Regions from separate parts of the Homo sapiens genome. Here region 2 is linked to region 1. The links are contacts of gene promoters, found by promoter capture Hi-C in human tissues and cell types (Jung and others, 2019). All regions are on one chromosome and are shown on one strand. The core of a region is centred on a gene start or on the middle of the fragment in contact, and the rest is flanking DNA. Distances in the headings are between cores, read along the strand shown. Region 1 holds the start of SGSH (N-sulfoglucosamine sulfohydrolase). Region 2 overlaps RNF213 (ring finger protein 213).

Evidence for each region. Contacts are between HindIII fragments. The study calls those that stand out against the background at their distance.
Region 2: a fragment that was not itself captured here is called in contact with the fragment with the promoter of SGSH in region 1 in 1 of the 25 tissues and cell types used here (H1 embryonic stem cells).

What each region holds. Positions count from the first base shown.
Region 1 is chr17:80,217,659-80,222,336 of GRCh38, reverse strand. SGSH (N-sulfoglucosamine sulfohydrolase) reads left to right here and starts at 2,004. Exons shown (of 8, transcript NM_000199.5): 1 at 2,004-2,111. The coding sequence starts at 2,024. SLC26A11 (solute carrier family 26 member 11) reads right to left here and starts at 1,910. Exons shown (of 18, transcript NM_001166347.2): 1 at 1,841-1,910; 2 at 1,222-1,421; 3 at 543-789. The coding sequence starts at 776. RefSeq lists enhancers at 1-185, 2,843-2,962 and silencers at 1,683-1,752, 1,773-2,042. The HindIII fragment of the contact is 8,333 bases long and covers 1-4,103 here.
Region 2 is chr17:80,268,583-80,273,472 of GRCh38, reverse strand. It overlaps RNF213 (ring finger protein 213), which reads right to left. Exons shown (of 68, transcript NM_001256071.3): 3 at 69-232. Among named protein-coding and RNA genes, the nearest start is that of RNF213, 10 kb to the right of the region's middle. RefSeq lists a silencer at 2,325-2,374. The HindIII fragment of the contact is 4,608 bases long and covers 1-3,986 here.

The sequences.
Region 1 (4,678 bases), core at 755-3,254:
TGGCACAGTCTCGGCTCACTGCAAGCTCCGCCTCCCGGGTTCACGCCATTCTCCTGCCTCAGCCTCCCAGGTAGCTGGGACTACAGGCACCCGCCACCACACCTGGCTAATTTTTTGTATTTTTAGTAGAGACGGGGTTTCACCCTGTTAGCCAGGATGGTCTCCATCTCCTGACCTTGCGATCCGCCTGCCTCGGCCTCCCAAAGTGCTGGGATTACAGGCTTGAGCCACCGCACCCAGCCTAATTTTTGTATTTTTAGTGGAGACGGGGTTTCACCATTTTGGTCGGGCTGGTCTTGAACTCCTGAGGCCTCCATGAGTCATCTCGCTGGCCCCTCCATAACCAGCTCAGTGTCTGTGTGTGCCAAACAGGCATAGGAGCCTGGGTCGGCCCAGAGACAATCTGCGTCACACACTGTAAACCAAAGGTTCCTTGGGGCCCAGGGGCTGGAAACCTGGAATCGCTGATGGTGTCTGGGATTGATACTGTGTATTCTGCACTGTTTCTGAGATATGGCTGGCAGCAGGGTCAGACGCCTCACCTGGGGCGGGAGTCCAGCCACTTCAGCATAGGCCAGCGCCTGGGGAATGGCAGTGAGGCCAACTGAGAGGCCGGCGACGAAATCCATCTTCAGCCACTGCAGGGAGTAGCTGGGCAGCCACGCCAGGATGGGCAGCCTCCTCTGCAGGGCCGCAGGGGAGCAGCAGCAGGCGCTCGGGGCCATCCCGGGGCCAGAGGACCTGGCCTGACCCAGCGCCGTCACCGAAGAAGGCATCTCTACGGTGGGGCTGGGGGGTGCAGGTGACACAGACCAGCAGTCAGAGCGTGGCCTTTGAAGAACCCGGCAACACTGGTCAGGGTCGGCGGGTGTCAGGAGAGGTCACTATGGGTCTCCCCTCCCCAGGGGGGCGAACGGCTCTAAGAGGAAGCCAACAATGTGTGCAAGATGGGGACTGGGCCAAGACTGGAAGGCCCACCCCGTCCCTCATCACCCTCTCTCCCTGAATCCCCCCCGTGCAAATCCTGGGTGCCTTCTGTCCCTCCATCCTCAACTCTCCCAGATAAGAAACTGATAAGCGATTCCTCATTGAGAAGTCTGAAGACTAATTAGGCTCAACACTTCTGGCCCCTGGAGAACCGACTTCCTTTGCCTTTTTTTCCGTCTCCCCAGGGAATTTAACGGGGAGCAGCGCAGAGAGAAGCTGGGCCCGCGGGCGCACCGTAGGCTGGCGGGGGGTGCGGGTGGCAGCCAGGAGATCCAGCGGGGCTCCGAGGTTTTCCAACTGCGCACCAAGGCGGGCTCCACCCGCTACGGTGGACTGCGGCGCTCGAGGGAGAGTGGGGGGGTCCTCCGCTCCTGAGGCCACGCCTCGCTCAGCCCCCACCTGTGGCTTTCACAGCCCTGGAGTTCTAGTTGCTTCTGGGAGGACATCAGAGGCGCCCGGTTAATTCAGGTGCGCAGCATCTTCCAGGGCCCCGGCGCCCGCGCGCAGAGCCGCCACCCTCACCCCCAGCCCCCCACGCCCCCGGCCGCTCCGCTCCGGGCAAAATCCACTCCCCGGCCCCCGGCCCCGCCCACAAGGCCGCTGGCTCCGGATCCTGGGGTCTCCGGAGGAGACCCTGCGCCACCTGACCGTCCGCGGTCCCTTGGCCCCGAGCAAGGCCGAGGGCCGCGGGGACCCGGGTAGGGACGCGGCGGGGGAGTGGTCCCCACGGGAGGCCCCCGCACTTCAGGACTCCGCGCTGGCCCCCGCGTCGGCTGCCCCCGGCGACCCCGGCCACTGTCCGCTCCCCCTGCCCCTGGTCCCCGCTCGCCGCCCTCGCGGGCCACGGACTCACCCACTCGGCGATGCAGCTTGGGGTCTCCTGGCGTCGCCGCAGCTGGGTCCGCAGGAATCGCCGGGGACAGGCCGGGGCGGGGTCTGGCGCGCACGTGACCGGGGTCGGGGCAGGGGGCGGGGCCGAGCGGGAGACCAGAGAGCCGGAGCCGGATCCCGATCCCGAGTCCGAGCCGCCGCCGCCATGAGCTGCCCCGTGCCCGCCTGCTGCGCGCTGCTGCTAGTCCTGGGGCTCTGCCGGGCGCGTCCCCGGAACGCACTGCTGCTCCTCGGTGAGTGCCGGCGCCGCCCCCCCACGCCCACCTGCGGTGGCCCGGGGAAGTGGCCACTGGCCTCCTCCCCACCCGTGGTCAATGCTGACCCTAGTGTGCCCTGCCCTTGTATCCCCCGCTGCCATTCCCTCTCGTCCTCCTCTCTGTGCCGCCCCCAGACTCTTCACGGGTGTCTCCCCAGAGAGGGCAGCAAAGGCTGGAGGAGTGAGCCCCAGCATCCAGCACCCCTACACTTACCTCGTGCCGCCTGTCCCACCCTCCTCTGACCCTGCCCAGCCAGGGCTCAGGGGTCCACGGATCTCAAATCCCTCTTGGGAGGGGATCCCAGAGGAGGGGCTGGTGCTCCGGTCCCCAGAGACTGCAGACAGGGTGCCCTCCTGGCTCTCATTTCCGACCCCAGAGCCTGTGTCTCAGCTGTCTTTTCCCTTATCCCAAGGGCACAGCCCTCCACCACCCACCCACCACCGTCTCCCCCAACCCCAGTCCCTCTCAGAAACCCCAGGTTCCTCCAGAGCAAGCACCGTGCTGCTCACAAGACTTCCGGTTTAGGTAATCAAGGCTCTGGCTCATGACAAGTGACAAGGCCAAACCCAAGGCCTGCGATTCTTTCCCCTTCTGAGGTCTGGCGCCCTGCCAGTTGCCCTCTTTCTGATTAATTTTGTGGTCTCTGGGCGGGGGTTCGGCTCACTGTAACATAAACAGCTCTCCTGCCAACTCCTCGCCTCCCAGAAACACAGCAGAGAATCTGCATGGACCCTCACCTGCGGATCAGAATTCCTACAGGAGGCTGTCAGAGTCCAGGCTATGCGGCCCCTGGGCTAGGGCCTTTCTTAGCACGGACTGCCATGGATCGGCTTAAACAGAAATGTATTTCTCACAGTTCTGTGGGCTGAAAATCCAAGGTCAGGGTGCCAGCTTGGTTGGGTTCCAGTGAGGGTCCACTTTCGGCTTACAGGTGGTCACCCTCTCACTGTTTCCTCACATGACAAGCGGATGGGGGTGGTCTCACTTCCTTTTCCTTTCTTTTTCCTTTCTTTCCTTTTTTTTTTTTTTTTTTTTTTTTTGTGAGACAGGGTCTCACTCTGTCACCCAGGCTGGAGCACAGTAGCACAATCACAGCTCACTGCAGCCTCAATCTCCCAGGCTCAAGCGATCCTCCTGCCTCAGCCTCCCAAGTAGCTGGGACCTCAAGTGCACATCACCATGCCTGGCTAATTTTTGTATTTTTTGTAGAGACAAGGTCTCACTGTGTTGCCCAGACTGGTCTCGAACTCCTGGGCTCAAGCAATCTTCCTGCCTTGGCCTCCCGGGTGCTGGGCTTACGGGCATGAAACACTGCACCCGGCCCTCTCTTTCTTTTCCTTTAAGTCCACAGTCCTGTCAGATCAGGATCTCATCCTTATGATTCATTTACCCTTAATTAAGGACCCTGTCTCCAGATACAGTGATGTTGACGTTAGGGCTTCAGCATATGAATTCTGGGAGGACACAGTTCAGACCATAGCAGGCCCACAGCCAAGTGCCGAGACACTCTGGGTTTGGAGAAGGGCAGCTTTCTTCCTGGCCTGCGGGTACGGAGCACAGCCCATCCCGCTCTCCCTCCAGGTTTACGTGGCTGCCATGTGCTCACACCTGTGGGTACTGTGGGGTGGAGGATGGAAGCCCAACTGGAAGGTGCCCAGCCTCCTCTGTCCATCCATGGACCACATTGCCTCTGAGGGAGCTGGGGAAAGTGTTGGTCTGGGGGTTCCCACCAGCCTCTCCTGTGGTGCCCCCAGTGTCCTCTACTCCAGAGCAGGGGGAAGAAGCTTGGTGTGGTTGTAGGAGTTCAGCGGCCTGTCCCTGTTTCCTGCTGCCCAGTGTGTGGCCCTGGGCACTGCACCTCACCTTTCTGGGCCTCAGCTGCTTTGTGTAGGATGAAAGGGTTGAAATAGACAACCTGCAAGGTCACTAGGCCTTTGAGATGGCATCAGTGAGAAGCAGCGGTGGGACGCACACACATAGAGCTTTAGACGCGCCCTGGGCGAGGCTCTCCTGCCCTCTGCCCCATGCGGTTTCCGCTGAGCCCAGAATTGCCCAGCAGTTCTGTGGCCATGCGCTCAGCCGCTGTCTGCCTAAATGCCTAGCCGGCTAACACGCCCACCCAGGTAGCATGCCTGCTGGGGTATCATCAAGCTTGTTGGGTCATCATGCCTGCATGAGTATCTTGCCCACTTGGGTACCATGCCTGCCTGCTAACATGCCTATGCAGGTACCAGGCTTGCCTGGGTACCATGCCCATCTGCTTATACCCACCAGCTATCAGTCCAGCCTGTGTACCATGCCCACCTGCCAACATACCCACCGGGTATCATGCCTGCTTAGGGTATCATCAAGCTTATTGTGGTATGATGCCTGCTTATCATGCCCACTTGGATACCATGCCTGCCTGCTAACATACCAACCACGCATCATCCCTGCTGGATACCAGTCTACCTGCTAACATACCCACTGGTATCAGGCCTGCCTGGGTACCATGCCTACCTGCTTATACCCACCATCTATCAGTCCAGCCTCCATACCATGCT
Region 2 (4,890 bases), core at 433-2,932, 51 kb before region 1:
AGCTGTGCAGTGAGATTTTCCTGGGCAGAGTGAGCGGGGGCGGAGGGGAGCCGAGGCAGTGCACTCACTTCTTGGACGGTCCAGGAGGCTTTGGAACAGGGCTCCTCGGGGTTTTCTTGCCAACTGTCTGAGCCCGGGAACAAGCACGGGCCCCCTTCCTCCTTCAGCTCCTGCCCACACTCCATTTCACCCTCCGAGGCCGACGCCATTGTGGAGTTATTGTTCTCAGAATCTGTAACGGCAGATGAAGGAAGGGTCAGATCTCAGAGAGAAGCGAGTGTTAGGAAGGAAAAACAGAAATCCTCCCCACGAGTGCATGGAGAGATTCACCCTGTTCTCCCTCCGAGGTCCTGCATTGGGCCTGCTAACATGAGCAGGGTAGGGGTTCTGCTCCAGGTGGGTAGGAGGGAACCAGGGACCCCAGTTTCAGCACAACAAGGGGTGAATCAGACAGAAAGACTGTGCCGTCCTAGCATCCAGCCTCTTCCTCCCAATGTCCACGAGTGGATTCACCTGACTCTGTACTAGGATGTCAGCGCACCTCGGGCACCTCTAAAACAGAGCCTGTTACGCTTTCCTCCCCTACTGTAGACATTCCTCCTGTCTTCCCCAGGGTGGGCATTCTCCCAGTGGCGGCCCAGGGGTCTCAAACTGCTTCCCTTGTCCTGGCACTAAGGCATCTGCCCGCCCAGCTGCTCTGCCTCCAGATTCTCACCCATGCAGAGCTGCCATGCAGACAGCATGGAGCACCCACTCTGCCAGCCCCACACTCACTCTAGCCTTCATTGTGGTGTGGACGCACTTTGTCCATCCCCACCAAAACTCATGTTGATCCCCAGTATGCCAGTGCTGGGAGGCAGGGCTGCGGGGAGGTCTGTGGGTCGTGAGGGCAAATCCCTCACGAATGGCTTGGTGCCGTTTGCGGTCATGGGTTTACTCTTGAGAGGCTTGTTTACTCCCCTCGGGAATGGATTAGCACCCGCCAGGTGGGTTGTTATGAAGTCAAGATGTCCCATCAGGCTTAGTCTTTCACAGCTGTCAGCATCCCCGTCGGCCTACTCTGCCATGTGGCACAAAAGCCCTCACCAGACATCAGGGCCAGGCCCTGAACTTCTCAGTCTGCAGAACTGTGAGCTAAATAAACCTCTTTTTTCTTTTTCTTTTTTTATTTTATTTTATTATTTTTTTTGAGACAGAGTCTTGCTCTGTCGCCCAGGCTGGAGTGCAGAGGCACAATCTTGGCTCACTGCAACCTCTGCCTCCCAGGTTCAAGCAATTCTCCTGCCTCGGCCTCCCAAGTAGCTGGGATTACAGGTGCATGCCACCACACCCGGCTAATTTTTGTGTTTTTAGTAGAGACAGGGGTTTCAGCATCTTGGCCAGGATGGTCTTGAACTCCTGACCTCATGATCCACCCGTCTTGCCCTCTCAAAGTGCTGGGATTACAGGTGTGAGCCACCCCACCCGGCCTCTTTTCTTTTTTCTTCTTTTTTGAGACGGAGTCTCGCTCTGTCACCCAGGCTGGAGTGCAGTGGTGCAATCTCGGCTCACTGCAACCTCCACCTCCTGGGTTCAAGTGATTCTCCTGCCTCAGCCTCTGGAGTAGCTGGGATTACAGGCATGCGCCACCACACCCAGCTAATTTTTTTTGTATTTTTAGTAGAGACGGGGTTTCACCATGTTGGTCAGGCTGGTCTTGAACTCCTGACCTCGTGATCCGCCCACCTCGGCCTCCCAAAGTGCTGGGATTACAGGCTTGAGCCACCACACCCGGCCTTTTCTTTTTCAATTACCCAGGCTCGGGTACTCTTATGGCAACAGAAAATGGACGAAAACACCCTTCAAGGAGTCCCTGTTTTCAATCCTGGGTCTGGACGACCCCACCTCTCCCTGACACACACTCCAGATGGTGCCAGGCCAAGCCTGCTTTTCTGTACAGAACCTTCCCTCTGCCTGATCCCCACAGACCCTTCTCCAAGGCCCCAAGCCAGTCCCAGCTGCGCCCCTGTCTGGACACTTCATCCCCACGCCCGTTTCCAGCACCTGGTTTCGTCACTGCCCTCTCCTCCTCTGAGATCTGGAGGGCAGGGACCACGCAGACCTTTTTCCCTTTGAGTACTCAGTGTTGGCGTAGCCAAGAGCTCAAGAATTCGTGAAGTTCCTTAGCAGGACTCAAAATTGATAACAAATCCTCTAAACGTCTACATACATAAGACACACATGAAACATCACAGCCAGAAAGTAAGAGCTGGAGAAAGATCTGCAACAGGCGACCCAAGGCCCCATCCTTCGAGAGCTGCTGTTTCACCTACAACCAGGGATTCTGAGCCTGCCCCTCCCACCAACCTACCCTCCCACCAACCTACCCTCCCACCAGGGGCGGGCCCTGACTAGCCTAATCCAATCAGGGCCGATATTTACCCTGGCACTAGTGATTGACTAAGGGAAGGGCCAACCAGCAAGAAGTATGGAAGCATCCATACTTCTGGACCCTTACTGGGGTTTCTGCCACTCAGTGCATCCTGGAAAGACCATGAGGTGGTGCTGGGAAACCACTGTCTGTTCTCCTCCACCTGCAGACAAAGCTGGCAGTGGAGAAGGGCAGAGCTGTCAGGATCAGAGAAATGGAGCAAAGCCCTAGTACACTTGAACCCCTCAAGCCTGGACTTGGGCAACGGTGACCCAGCACGTTTCTCTTGCTGAGCAAGCCTAGGAGAGCTGGGTTTCAGGCTGTTCCCAGTATAAACAGTCCCAACAATCATAAGGACCAACCAAAGCAAAACGAGCTTCCCTAAAGACAGACAGGCCGCTCAAGGAAATACACATACATGTGGTCTCTTAACTTCCAAAGAGATGCCTGCCATGCCTACTGATGAAGGAAATCAGAACGGAGGCCCTGCAGTGCCATTTCCACCCAACGACCGGCACAGATTGACAAGATCCATCATTCTGAACGCTGGAGAGAATCTGAATAGAAATCTAGAAGGCAGGGAGCACAGAGACGCGGCCAGTGAGTGGCCAGAGAAGCTTTGTGCAGGGGATTTGAAGAGATTTGCATTGTAAATGTGCCAGCCTGAAGCCAGCAGGCTAGTGGCTGGGAATCTGTCCTCCAGACGGCCAGCCTGGCTCAGAGGGCAAGGTCTCCGTGCAAGCATGCAGCCTAGCAGCCTATGTCACGGCAAAACAGCAGGACAAGGGAAGTGCCCAGGATAGGCCTGTTGCTGAGTCAGGCCCTGCTGGGTGGCAGAGCCAGGGAGGCTGCTGAGGTCCGTCCTCCACTAGAGGCCTCAGCCACTGTACATGAAAGTAGCAAGGCATGCGCAGGGCACGAGCTGCCACTCACATTAACGTGTGTGTGTGTGCGCACACATTCACGCAGAGGAGATGTCTAGAAGAGGACACACCAGTTTACAGTGTTGCTCTGGGGAATGTGACAGTCCTGGCCCAGGGTGAGGAAACTTCGTGCTATTTTATGTCCTCCTGTAACATGTGGGTCATTTGCCAACCAGCATTTACATTTTTATTGTCATAAAAGTAAGTAGCTGGATTCAGAAATAAGAGACATACTTAACTAGCACTTCCTAAACAATGTACATGTTAACTCATTAAATACTCACAGTATAGAACAGGGTTATCCAGAGAGCAGAACTATAGAATATGTAGGTAGGTAGGTAGACAGGTAGATAGGTAGATACATGGATGGATGGACGGATGGATAGATAAGATGGGATGGATAGATAAGATGGGATAGATGAATGGATAGATACATAAGATAGATACATAGATAGAACAGATGAATGGATGGATGGATAGATTGATGGATGAATAGATAGATAAGCTAGATGAATGGATAGACAGATGATAGATAAACAGATAGGATGGACGGATAGATAGTATAGATGGATGGACAGATAGAATAGATGGATAGATGAATGGATGAATAGAAAGAGGATGGATGGATAGATAGAATAGATGAATGGATGGATGGATAGATAGAATAGATGAATGGATGGATGAATAGATGGATGGATAGATAGAATAGATGAATGGATGGATGGATGGATAGATGATAGGACAGATGGATAGGTGGATAGATAGATAGGGTAGGTGGACAGATAGGGTAGAGGGATGGATAGACGGTGTGATGGTTAATATCAGGTGTCAATTTGATTGGGTTGAAGGATGCCTAGGTAGTTGGTAAAGTATTGTTCTGGTTGTGTCTGTGAGGGTGTTGTCAGAGGAGACTGACATTTGAGTCAATGGCCTGGGAGAGGAAGACCCACCCTCTATGTGGGTGGGCAGCATCCAGTCAGCTGCCAGCGTGGCTAGAACAAAGCAGGCAGAAGGTGGGGTAAGCTGGCTCGCTGAGTCTTCTGGCTTTCATCTTCCTCCTATGCTGGATGCTTCCTCACGTTCCTCTTGCCCTTGGACATCACACTTCAGGTTCTTTGGCCTTTGGAAACTTGGACTTACGCCAGTGGTTTGCCAGGGGGATCTCGGGTCTTCAGCCACAGACTGAAGGCTACACTGTCGGCTTCCCTGCTTTTGAGGCTTTTGGACTCAGACTGAGCAACTACTGGCTTCTTTCTTTCCCAGCTTGCAGACGGCCTACCATGGGACTTCACCTTGTGATTGTGTGAGCCAATTCTCCATAATACACTCCCTTTCTTACAGACATAGATCCTATTAGTTCTGTCCCTTTAGAGAACCCTAATACAGACTTATAGATAGATGGATAGATAGGATAGATAGATAAGATGGATGGATAGGTACATGGATGAATGGATGGATGGATAATTGATAGAAGACAGATGACAGATAGATAGACAGATAAACGGATGGATGGATGGATGGATGGATGGACAAACAGATGGATGAGAGAGGATGTAT